4 separate regions of the Homo sapiens genome follow, and all the other regions are linked to region 1. The links are contacts of gene promoters, found by promoter capture Hi-C in human tissues and cell types (Jung and others, 2019). All regions are on one chromosome and are shown on one strand. The core of a region is centred on a gene start or on the middle of the fragment in contact, and the rest is flanking DNA. Distances in the headings are between cores, read along the strand shown.

The links. Contacts are between HindIII fragments. The study calls those that stand out against the background at their distance.
Region 2: a fragment that was not itself captured here is called in contact with the fragment with the promoter of MYCBPAP in region 1 in 1 of the 25 tissues and cell types used here (stomach).
Region 3: a contact is called between a fragment that was not itself captured here and the fragment with the promoter of MYCBPAP in region 1, in 1 of the 25 tissues and cell types used here (aorta).
Region 4: a contact is called between a fragment that was not itself captured here and the fragment with the promoter of MYCBPAP in region 1, in 3 of the 25 tissues and cell types used here (dorsolateral prefrontal cortex, lymphoblastoid cells and neural progenitor cells).

The regions. Positions count from the first base shown.
Region 1 is chr17:50,506,594-50,509,688 of GRCh38, forward strand. It overlaps MYCBPAP (MYCBP associated protein), which reads left to right and starts at 1,846. Exons shown (of 19, transcript NM_032133.6): 1 at 1,846-2,157. The coding sequence starts at 2,082. RefSeq lists a silencer at 1,552-1,841 and enhancers at 1,862-1,921, 1,942-2,071. The HindIII fragment of the contact is 18,604 bases long and covers 1-3,095 here.
Region 2 is chr17:50,752,776-50,755,870 of GRCh38, forward strand. It overlaps LUC7L3 (LUC7 like 3 pre-mRNA splicing factor), which reads left to right. Exons shown (of 10, transcript NM_016424.5): 10 at 1-3,095. Among named protein-coding and RNA genes, the nearest start is that of ANKRD40CL, 13 kb to the right of the region's middle. The HindIII fragment of the contact is 7,164 bases long and covers 1-3,095 here.
Region 3 is chr17:50,335,218-50,338,312 of GRCh38, forward strand. No RefSeq gene overlaps it. Among named protein-coding and RNA genes, the nearest start is that of XYLT2, 9.4 kb to the right of the region's middle. The HindIII fragment of the contact is 7,744 bases long and covers 1-3,095 here.
Region 4 is chr17:50,639,173-50,642,267 of GRCh38, forward strand. The region is part of intron 1 of ABCC3 (ATP binding cassette subfamily C member 3); the gene reads left to right. Among named protein-coding and RNA genes, the nearest start is that of ABCC3, 5.8 kb to the left of the region's middle. RefSeq lists enhancers at 1-658, 1,108-1,878, 1,556-1,850. The HindIII fragment of the contact is 6,297 bases long and covers 1-3,095 here.

The sequences.
Region 1 (3,095 bases), core at 596-3,095:
ACAGTTTATGGAGGGCACCCTGTTTCGTAGTTTAAATGCACACTCAGGCCAGGTGAGGTGGCTCATGCTTGTAATCCCAACACTTTGAGAGGCCAAGGCGGGAGGATCGCTTAAGCCCACGAGTTCAAGACCAGCCTGAACAACATAGCAAGACCCTGTCTCTACAAAAAATTTAATAATTAGCTGGGTGCAGTGGCACATGCCTGTAGTCCCAGCTACTCGGAAGGCTAAGGCAGCAGGATCATTTAAGCTCAGGAGTTTGAAGCTGCAGTGAGCTATGATTGTGCCACTGCACTCCAACCTGGGCAACAGAGTGAGATACTCGCTAAGAAAAAGAAATACATACATATTCATTTAACCCTGGCAGTGGCCTTGTGAGAGCAGCATTATGACCTCCATTTTATGTATGTATATATGTATGTATGGATGTATGAGATGGGGATCTCACTTTGTTGCCCAGGCTGGAGTACAGTGGTGCAATCAGAGCTCACTGCAGCCTGGACCTCCTGGGCTCAAGCAATCTTCCTGCCTTAGCCTCCAGAGTAGCTAAGACTACAGGTGTGGGCCACCAAAGCCAGCTAATTAAAAAAAAATTTTTTTAGGCTAGGCACGGTGGCTCACGCCTGTAATCCTAGCACTTTGGGAGGCCGAGGCGGGCAGATCACGAGGTCAGGAGTTCGAGACCAGCCTGACCAACTGGTGAAACCCCATCTCTACTAAAAATACAAAACTTAGCCAGGCATGGTGGCACTCGTCTGTAATCCCAGCTACTCAGGAGGCTGAGGCAGGAGAATCGCTTGAACCTGGGAGGCAGAGGTTGCAGTGAGCCGAGATGGCACCACTACACTCCAGCTTGGGCACAGAGCAAGACTCCGTCTCAAAAAAAAAAAAAAAAAAATTTTTTTTTTTTTTTAGAATGGAGTCTCCCTACGTTGCTCAGGTCAATTTTGAACTCCTGGCCTCAACCAATCCTCCTGCCTCAGCCTTCTAAAGCACTAGGATTGTAGGCCTGAACCACTGTGCCCAGCAGAGAAAACCGGCTCTCTAGGTCAAGGCATTGGCTCAAGAACACACAGCTAACAAGCCGACATAGCTGGGATTAGAACCCAATTGTCTGGCTCTAGAACCCCTTCACTATTTGAGGTACAATTTACTGCCTGACTACTAGTGCTAAACTTTGGGTTGGGGGCAGGGCCTGAGGCAGCTCCTGCTCTCATACATTCTGAGAGCCAGTTTGACAATAGGCAACTACACAAAAAACCGAAATAATCCCAGAATGCCTCAGGGCTCCAGGGGAAGGCGAAAAAAGCGGGTGCGTTTATAAACTTAAAATAATCAGAGGCAGCATCTCCAAGGACTGTGAGAATGCCCCAAGTCAGGGCAAAAGTTTTGGCTGGTTTGGGAAGTGATGAAAGGCCAAAGTGGCTGCAGCGAGCGTGGACCCGGGAGGTCTCCAGGCGCGTTGGTGCGAGTTGGGGACGGCAGGCAGGGACACCTAAAACCTACGGTACGCCACGAAGGGGTTTCAGCACGTCCTGAAAGGCCCGATCCCCCCCCAGAACCGCTGTGAGGGGGGCAGAGGGAGGTCCCTCGACAGGATGTGGCCTTAGTCGAGGAAGGCGGGAAGCAGGGGCTGGCACCCCCGACGCCCCACCCGCCCCCCGTGGCCTAGCAGCAGGGCGGGGCGAGGCGGGTCATGCACCCCTACCAGCCAGCCACTCCCACCCAGCCCTCGGCTCCCGCAACTCGCGGGGGTCCTCGCCCGGGTCCCCCGCCCCGCCCCGCCCGGCTGGTGACGTCACGGCGCTCGTCGGCGCCGCCTGTGGCGTCACAGGCCGGGCCCGCAGGGCTTTCTAGGGGTCCGTCGCTCTTGAAGCCGCCGGCGGCGGGCGCGTGCGCGGCCCGATGAAGAAGGAGGTTTCCAAGCCGTCTCCGCCCAAGTTGATCGGTGGATGCGCGCCCCCGCGCGGGGCACCGGTTGCTGTGGACGCAGTGGCGGCCGTTGGCTGGCGGGTGCGGCGCAGCCTCGGTGTCTCTGGGCCGGCGGTGCAGGGCAACGTTTCATGGTGCCGGGCGGCACCATGAAGTCTCTAAAGAAGGATTCCCGCCTCAGAATAACTCCGACCAGATTATTAGAGGCCTCAGAGAATGTCAAAGGTTGGCGCTGGCTGCCTTGGGCGCTCGGGAGAACCCGAGAGGGGAAGCGGTCCCCGGAAAGAGTTCAGGACACGGGGCCTGGAGGATGGGGATGGCACCAGGGATGGAGGAAAGATCACGGGGAAGTGGGGTACTGGGCATAGGACCCTTAGGGATGGGGGGCAAGGCAGGAAGAGCCTACAGCGCACTGGGCCTTGGGGATGGGGACATAGGAAGTGGGAGACTGACAGAGGGGCCTCAGGGACCACTGGCTGGGGAGATGGCCTTGCGCTACCTCTAACCACATCTTAGGGTGGCATGCAGGAGGCAGGATCCCCGGACTGGATGAAGTGCAGAAGAGCCAGGAAAGAGTTTAAGGGTAGAAGGGCCAGGAATTGGGGTCCTTGGGAAGAGGAAAGAATGAAGTGTTGAAACCAGCCACCTTGATGGGATTATTTGGTAGAGGAGGGTCGGGGAGCGGGGCAGGCGTCACTTAGGATTCCTGCTGGAAAAACCCAGAAGAAAGGCCTTGCTTGGCTAGTTCTCTTTTTGACTGCCTTTTCCTACCACGTGCACTTTCCAGCTGGATGACACTTATCCAGCTCCTTTAGCCTGGAAAGAATCGCTAGATATGACTGCTTCCTACCCTCTACAGCTTTCTTCTGGTTGCACCTGGGAGAGCCACAGGGCGTCTGATAGCGGACTGACTTCCATGGACATGTTCTCACTTGCAACCCACCCCCTTTTGATCTTTTTTGGCTGTTTCCATTTATTTATTTTTAAATTTAATTTTTAGCTTTTTTTTTCTGTGTGTGTGTGTGTGTGTGTGTGTGTGTGTGTGTGTGTTTGTAAACAGGGCTCTCGCTGTGTTGCCCCAGCTAGTGTCAAATTCTTGGCCTCAAGCGATCCTCCTGCCTCGGCCTCACAGACTGCTAGGATTCCAGGCATGGACCACTGCG
Region 2 (3,095 bases), core at 308-2,807, 250 kb after region 1:
TGATTTGTTCTGTTTAAGACTAATTTTTATAGACTTTCTAATGTTTTAAATAATGGTGCTTCAATTTTAGGTGGTTATGAATAAATTTGAATTTTGCTTTTAATAGCAAAGATGTGCAGTGAACTAGAATATATTTTTACATCCCTGAGAGATTCATTTAGTAGAAAATTCCAAGTATCCTGACAAGCACTCTTTAGCTGGCTAGCTATGGGATGATGTAGAAAAGCATTCAAGAGCTAGTTTTTGTTAAGTCCTGTATCAAGATTAACCCAGCTGTGTCAGTTTATAAATGTATTTGTGTATAGGGTGTGTAGTATATATGGCAAGGGTTTTTTCCCCCCACTTAAGTGATTATTTTTGTGTCACATCTAGGAAAACCGGCAGCATGTTTCTATCTATAGCCAGCTTCTTCGACTGTATAAAAGTATTCTCTCCAGCTACGTATATACACACATACATATATATCATAGCAATTCCTTGTGGTTTATAACTTGCAAATACTGCTATCAGTTTATAGGTAAAGAAACAGTGTGTTAAATGACTTATCCAGGGAGGGTCCTGTGGCTTCATGTTTATGGAGTTGCTAGGTCTCTGCCTCATGGTCCAGTGCCTGTTAAGCCACTGTGTTCATTCTAATAGGCATAATGAATTGTTAAAGAATTTACTAAAATCTCTTCCACCAAACTTTGAAAAATAATGAAGCCGCCCCCACTTTAGAGGCTCTGTATGAAAAAATGCTGTGGAGACAGAGCCCTCCTGGCTCCCTAGCTGATCCTGGAGATGCAGCAATAGATGAATGGGTTATCTCTGAATTTGTAAGAGATAATTCACATGAGGATTAAGATAAAATGGGAAGTAAAATCTAACAAACACAAAGATAGCTCCCAGGCACTGCTTTGTGTAGTTTGACAGCATTGTGGTTGTAGCAGCAAAGGACTTAAAGTGATAGTTTTTAAACCATATTCTGTCCCTAAGTAATAAAAAATCTAGGAAGTTACTAAAATACCAGATTTGTTCTGCTCTGCCTCATCTAGAATCAACGTCTAACTAACTTAAATGAAGTATAATAAATGAGTTCATATGAAAAGGCTTCCTCTATGGACACTTAGATATATTGTAACTATTGAAGTTACCTGGGATGTGGGGGTGGTGGGAGGAGGACCTGCCTCCCCAGGACATCTATGACTAAGGCCTGGCTTTAGTTATGGAGAGAGACGTAGAAGTTGAATTTTACACCCAAAATTGATGTGACTGAAGAGGAACTGATTGTTGCTAACCAGCTCACAAGAATCCAGTATTGAGACCAGTTCACTAGAAGAAACAAACATTTCTGCCATGCAGACCAAAAAGTTATTAGTTGGTGAATATGTATTTTCTCTTTGGAAGGTCTTTAAGGGGAGCAAACCAGTTTTAATCAATCAGATTGCTTGGTAAGTTTGGAATCTGCAATCAGTTGGTCTTAAAAAAAAAAAAACTTTATTTTGGAAATTTAAAGACATACACAAAAGAGGAACAATATAATTAACCTCTGTTAACTCATCACCAACAAGACTCATGACCACTTTTATACTTCATGAGTGATTGTATTTGTATCCACTGTTTTCTATTATTTTCGAGCAAGTCTCAGACACACCATTTAATCTGTAAATAATTCAGCATGTATCTCTAAAAGACAAAGACCTCTTAAATAACAGTTCATTAGTATAAAACAAATTGGGTAAACTTTTGTTGGTCATCAAACTATATTAGCACTGGTCCAATAGTTTAATTTTCATTGAGCCTTTCAAGAGGACCGACCAGTCTGCTGCTCAAGACATCCTCTCCTCTGGAATGTAGAGATAATACATATCATGCTCCTTTTTGTTAAAACGTTTTTTTTTCCCCTTCAAACACAGTCCATTCATTTTTCAGTTTGGGTTGAAACATCCTTTTCTTGATCTTGAGCTTATAATAACCTAGTCATATTGCTCAGCTCAGATATTTTTACTCCCTCTCCTTAGGCATTCTGGTTCCTTAAATATAGTTAGTGTCACAGAGGATAAATAACCAACCTTATTTCTAAGGTCTGAGAACACTTGGACCACATATTGGTTGAGCTCAGCCACCTTCTGATTAAAGTTTTCAGACTTGTAAGAACTGAAAATTTTTATGGTGGAAGTTCTCTGAGCCCTCATCCATTCTGTTTTTAAAAATGCATTGCAGATGGGCTATGTGAATATGTTTTTAAACATCTGATATGTGCATGAAACAAAAAACACTTGAAGTTATTATGTATACAATTCTGTGGGATGGGACTTCATGCAGGATTGGTTTTCAAGTTTGATTTCCTGAGGGATTTTTTAGTTGTTTGTGAAAGAACCCCAGGTCTACTTTTGAAATTTTGTATTATAATTGTAATGTTGCCCATGGTTAAAAAAAAAAAGTGTTCAGTGATCTATGTCTCCTACTACTCCTATTTCTCTGTTTTTCCTCTGCAGGAGCTTGCTGCTGTTAACAGTTATTCTTCCAAGTTGTTTTCTTTGTGGGGAGATGGGAGGTGGGAGGAAATATAAACATATATGTATAGATCTTTCAAAATATATGACGGTATACCCGTATGTTCTGAGTCTTGCTGTTTTTACCTGGTAATATTTAGAAACATTTATTTTGAGATAAAGGAGAGCACTTTTAAGTTGAACCTGTAGTTTTAAAAAGTACATTTCAAGTAAGCCAAAGCAGAGAAGTAAATGTATTTTTCATTGTTGTATCAGAATTTTGAATTTACTATTTTAAAAATTCAAGAGTTTTGTAGCTGATCTATTTCTTCCCCTCAGCCATCCCAAATAGGTCATTTGTCAACAGATTTAAGAATGTTTAGAAACAACAACTTTGGGAAACGGGAAACAATTTGGTATAAGTGGGTGTGCCATAACCTCTCTCGTAGCCATTCATTCCCGGATACATACCCTAGAGAAACTCTTACACATGCGTACCAGGGGATGGATTTAAGCATTTGTGTGTAATAGGAAGAAAAGAAGAAAAAACCCGGGAAGATCCCAAGTGTCCACCAACAGTGTGTTGGATAAATACTGTGGTATATTCCAACAGTGGAATTC
Region 3 (3,095 bases), core at 429-2,928, 170 kb before region 1:
ATTACAGGCGTGAGCCACTGTGTGGAGCTTTGTTTTTCTTGTTTTTCTGAGACAGGGTCTTGCTCTGTCACCCAGGCTGGAGTGCAGTGGCATGATCATAGCTCACAGCAGCCTCAAACCCTTGGGCTCAAGTGATTCTCCCACCTTAGCCTCCCAAGTAGCTGGGACTACAGGTGCACATCACCATGCTCGACTAACTTATTTTTTTTTATTTTTCATTGAGACAGGGTCTTACTCTGTCGTTCAGGCTGGAATGCAGTGACACAACCATGGCTCACTGCAGCCTCCACCTCCCAGACTCAAGCAATCCTCCCTGCTCAGCCTCCTGAGTAGCTGGGACTACAGGCATGCACCACCACACCTGGCCAATTTTTTTTTTTTTTTTTTTTTTTTTTAGTAGAGACAACCAGGCTGGTCTCAAAATCCTAAGCTCAAGCAATCCGTCTGCCTTGGCCTCCCAAAGTGCTAGGATTATAGGTGTAAGTCACCATGTCCCACCCCCATTCTATGTTTTTTAAAATGTAGCCATAATCCTTTAAATTGAGTGGGTTGTGACCTGTAGTTTGAACTACACTGATCTAGAAAAACCTAAAGGATAGGCCATGTTGTCATTCATGTATGAAGGCAACAAAAAGACCTCAGGTGTGGAAGTTATTTTTAAAAGAATCCCTCCTGAATACTCTTCTTTAATAAATCACTTGAAGATGTATGCCAGGACAGTAGAGAAAAAATCAGATGTAAATACTCAAGAATGAGAAAAATATCTAGCTTGAAGCACCTGCTTAGAGGTTTAGGGGAAGGAGAGTTTTCATGTCTTCTCAAGACTACAGATTGCTAGCACCTTTTTGCAATGTTCTGGCAATATCTTTTAAAAGAGAAATGTACATACCCATCTCACTCTTGGAAATCTATCATACAAAAATAAAGACACCAGTATATCAGGTGATATGAACTAAGATGCTTCTTGAAGCCATATGTGTAGGGGCAAAATAACTAGCAATGACCTCAATGCCCAATAACAGGTGAATGGCTTAATAAATTATGGTGTATCTATACTAAAGTAATAAACATTATGTAGCTATTATGTATTAACCTGGAGGGGTATCCATGATAAAATGATGATTTATTTAAAAACACAGTGTTGGGTAATTTCTGTATCATCTTACTTCTGTAAAACATGGAGTGGAAACCTACCAAAGGGTTGACATCTGCATATATTTATATGAGCAGAGAGAAGAATGTGGAAGCAACAAAGCAAACGGGCCAGGCTGGTTAATTCTAAGTAGAGAGCAGAGGGGAAAGAAAGGGAGATCATTGGCTGTTCTGAAACAGTTTTTAATTAATTCGTTGCCTTATTTTTGAAATTTTTGAACTATTTCTTTTGAGACAGGGCCTTGCTCTGTCACCCAGGCTGGAGTGCAGTGGTGTGATCATGGTTCACTGCAGCCTCACTCCCCTGAGCTCAAGCAATCCTCCCACCTCAGCCTCCTGAGTAGCTGGGACTACCGACGGTAGTCCCACATCTGGCTAATTTTGGTATTTTTAATACAGATGGGGTTTTGCCATGTTGCTCAGGCTGGTCTCAAACTCCTGGGCTCAAGCTATCTGCCTGCCTCAGGAAGTAATTTTTTAAATTATCTACTTGGCAAAGGGCATTGAACAAGTTAATATATATGCATTACTCTAAATATTTTTAAATAGTCTCAAAACTGAAGATTAAAAAAAAGAGAGATTATTCCCTTAAAAGAAATTAGCTACATTATAAACCAAAATGACAAAGTTCATAACCCCAGATGAACTTTTAACAAGTGAGAATGATCCTTGTTCACATAGTAGAGAGAGAAAAGAAGTGGGGATGAATAGGGAGAAACTAATTTTCTACAATGGGAAATAAAAATTATAGTTCTATGAGGACTGTGATCATTGAATATCTGTGAAGGCTAAAGCAACTCCATATTGGAGGCTAAGCCGCCATGATGACTTCTGATTAGCCCCAATTCTGGGAATTCCTCTAAGCTTTCCAGTCTATCTATTGTTACCTGTGTAAGAACAGGTACTTACCTCCCTTAGGTCAAAACAACTTTGATGTTATCATACTTCAATTGTCCTTCACCTGCCTTCTGGATCACATATACCCCTTCCCTGTGGTAGATAAGCCCTGGGTCTTAGGGGGTAACATCTTGTCTCCCTGCCAGCCACTGCACAAGACACAGACCTGGCTTCTGTTTCTAATTTCCTATTGTTTATTTCTAAGAAACTGAATTTGTCAGCCTTTTTCTTCAGTCTCTCAGTTTCCTTGGACTTTGGCGACAGGTTTGCACAGGCCTACCCACTGAGGAACAATGTCACATTAAAATTATCTGAAAAGTTGTAAGTAAACACAAGTAGAATTTTAAAAAGAATTCTAGAGCTAGCACAGTGGTGCACACCTGTAGTCCCAGCTACTTGGGTGGCTGAAGAGGGAGGATCACCTGAGTCCAGGAATTCAAGGCCAGCCTGGGCAATATAGTAAGATGCTCCTTGTCTAAAAAAAGAAAAAAAAATTTTTTTAAAGAATTCTAATTCTTGCTTTCTAAATTATTAAGGAAGATTATAGCAGACGAACAGTCTATATAGCCCTGAAAGGAAAATTAACAGCAAAATGCGTTTAAGGCCTAAAACTCAGGCGCAGTATTAAATGCTGATACTGACTTTATATGCGGTGAAATTGGGAGGCTTTGACTGGCCTAGCCACAAGTTCACCTCCTCACTCTGCTCCCTTGGATAAGGTCCCCCAGCCAAATAACCCCCCTTATCAAGGGGACCAGGAGCACTTCCTGCTTATTCCTGAGTAGTGGGTTTCAGTTTCCTGCCAGCCTGCAGCCTGCATAATTATCCACATAAGCCAGTCACATCTTCCTGCTGAAACTAGGGGACATCTCATCCTCTTGATACTACAAAGCCTGCCTCCCACAGCCCTTAGTTGCTCACTGTCTCTGAGCGCAACCCCTGTGTGGCCCTGCATGGTGTGTGATATCCTGCCCTGGGCTATGAGTATATGTGACTAATACACTACTGTCAATCTCATCTGCCCAGAATCAAATGTCGTGTGTTTG
Region 4 (3,095 bases), core at 232-2,731, 130 kb after region 1:
CCCAGTCCTCCCTGCAAGGCCAGAGCTCCCGGGGCTCCTTTCCTCCATCTCAGCTGCTGCAAGCAAACCCAGTGCTGGATGGCTTTGACCTCTGAGCTCTTGGCTTCTGGCTACGGCATTTCATTGCTTGTGGCCTCAGGCTGGCTTCTCCTCAATCCTGCTGTTCCCCCACTTCACCTGGGCCTTAGGTCCCTGAGGGCCAGAGAGATACGGGGAAGGAAGTGAGTCAGGGAAGTGGCATTCAGGAGGGAGCTTTGCCAAGCCCGCCTGTAGTCCCCAGACAGGGAAATGGTCTTGAAACACTGGGCAGGCTTCCAGGGAGGAAGGACTTGGCAGGGATGACCAGCTGAGCCACCCCGGAGTAGGGCCAGAGCACCCGGACTGTATTCAGTCCTCTCCATTGGGGCAGGATCCCTGGGGAGTTGGGGGTGAAATGAGACCTGGTATGCCATTGCTGGGGTGGCTGGGCCCCTCCCCTTCCCGAACTGAAGTTGTTTCTGTTTCTGGTACTGCGGTGCAGTGGTTGGGGCTGGCAGGGGGCAGGGTGGGATAGTGAATGAGAGCCTAACTCTAGGCTTGGATTTTGGATTTCTCCTTTTTTTTTTTTTTGTGACAGAGTCTTGCTCTGTCGCCCAGGCTGAAGTGCAGTAGCACAATCTCAACTCACTGCAACCTCCACCTCCCAGGTTCAAGCAATCCTCCTGCCTCAGCCTCCCAAGTAGCTGGGATTACAGGTGCACACCACCATGCCCGGCTAATTTTTGTATTTTTAGTAGAGACGGGGTTTCACCATGATGGCCAGGCTGGTCTCAAATTCCTGACCTCAAGTCATCTGCCCACCTCAGCCTCCTAAAGTGCTGGGATTACAGGCGTGAGCCACCGCATTCAGCCAGATTTCTCCTAACTGGATATTCAGGTTTCTAGTCAGGGGCTCCCAGAACCCCAGCTAGGCCACTACCCAGGTGTTAGCCGCTCTGCTCCCTCAGCTCTGTGAGAATAATTGCAAAAAGCAGGTGATATGAGAATGGGCTGCATGGCTGAAAGGTGATCTGGGTGCAAGTGCTCTATCCCCAGGGTGGGACATCATGCCGGAGTCCTACCAGGTGTACAGGAAACACTAATCCTGTGGGAAGGAGCTGGGCCCTGGAACAAAACTCTCTGGGTCTAATCCCAGCATCAGCCCTGGGTGTCAGCTGTCATGAGCGTGAAATGATCATCCTGGCCCACAGCAGGAGCTCAGTGAACCAAAGCCCCTTCCAGAAGCACATTGGCCAGTTGAGCCCGTGAGCCATCCCTGCAAGGGGCCAGCAGGCGCAGCACAACCAGTTTTTGTTTGTTTGTTTGTTGTGTTGTGTTGTGTTTTTGAGAAGGAGTCTCGCTCTGCCACCCTGGCTGGAGTGCAGTGGCGTGATCTCAGCTCACTGCAACCTCCGCCTCCCAGGTTCAAACAATTATCCTGCCTCAGCCTCCTGAGTAGCTGGGATTACAGGCATGCGCCACCATGCCTAGATAATTTTTTTAAATATTTTTAGTAGAGACAGCGTTTCGTCATGTTGGCCAGGCTGGTCGCAGACTCCTGACCTCAGGGGACCCACCCTCCTCGGCCTCCCAAAGTGCTGGGATTACAGCACAGCCAGTTTTTGACCCCTGCCCCCAGGCCTTCCAAAGGCTGAGGGAGGGTGAGTGGGGATCAGCACGTGTCCTTGCTCTCTCCACGCCTTCATTGCTGCTGAGTCAATGGTCTTGTCTGTTCATCCCTTCCCTATCTGGGACTTCAGGAGCTGCCCTGCAGTGGTGGCTTCCTTCTCCAGTACCACACAGGAATAGGGAAGTAATGACTCTTCTCATGACAGAGACTGTCAACAGGCCTGGGGCCCCCAGGGCTTGGGAAGTCCCTGGCAAAGCTGGGGCAGAGGGCTCCGGGGTCCTCACCCCCCGCCCCCATCGCCTGTATGAGTCTGCAGTGATTTCAGCTTCAGTGACCATGAAGTCTGCCATGAGGGGGCCTCTGCCACGTGGTCCATTCTGGATGTGGGACCTTACCCCTTATCAGCCCCATCCAGCTGTTTAATCGCATTATTAAGGAAGCTGTTGTTGCTGTGGAAACTGTGTGGGTGATGGTGGGGGAGGGGGCTGTGGGCTCAGCTCTCACCTCCCAGCAGTGCTCTTCAGAGCGGGAATGAGAGGAGAGCCTTGAGTAGGGATCGTCATCCTGCCCTGCAGGGATTCAGGGAGTGTTACAGGGTCCAGGGAATAACCTTCACTGGCCCTGTCCTCACCTTCATTTTACACATAACTGAGTTGGAGACCCTTCTGGGTGCCAAGAACTGTGGCCTTGGTACCAGGGAGAGAACACTGTGTTCCTGGGCATGAAGCTGCAGAGGCTGCGGCTGGAGTTGGCACCCTCCATTTATCTATTCATTTGTTTATTCATTCTTTTGTTCAATAGATGGTTATTGAGTACCTTCTCTGTGCCAGGCCCTGCTCTAAGCAACAGGAAATACCATCAACTGCAGAATACAGAGCTAAAGAATCTGTCTTCGTGGAGCATATACTCTAGTGGGAAGAGGCAGTAAAACAAGAATCATAAAGGCCAGGTGCAGTGGCTCATGCCTGTAATCCCAGCACTTTGGGAGGCCGAAGCAGGAGGATCACTTGAGCCCAGAAGTTCGAGACCAGTCTGGGCCACATAGTGGGACCCCATCTCTACAAAAAAATTAAAAAATTAGCTGGGCGTGGTGGCACATGCCTGTAGTCCCAGCTACTCAGGAGGCTGAGGCAGGAGGATCGCTTGAGCCCAAGAGGTCAAGATTACAGTGGGGAAAAAAAAAAAAAAAGAACAGTTGAATGTGGCACTGTCATGCCGTTCAACCTGTAATTTGAAGGTAGAATGGACAGGGTTTGCTGAGAGACCGGATGTGGGATGTGAGAGAAAGAGAAGAATCAGGGGCAACTCCAAGGACTCTGGTCTGGGAAGAGAGACAGGAGGAAGGAACTGCCATCCCCGGGCCAGGCAGGCTAGAAAGGCAGGGACGGCCAAGAGCTCAGTTCTGGACGTGTTTTGTATGACGTGTCCCATAGTTGATGTCCTAGCT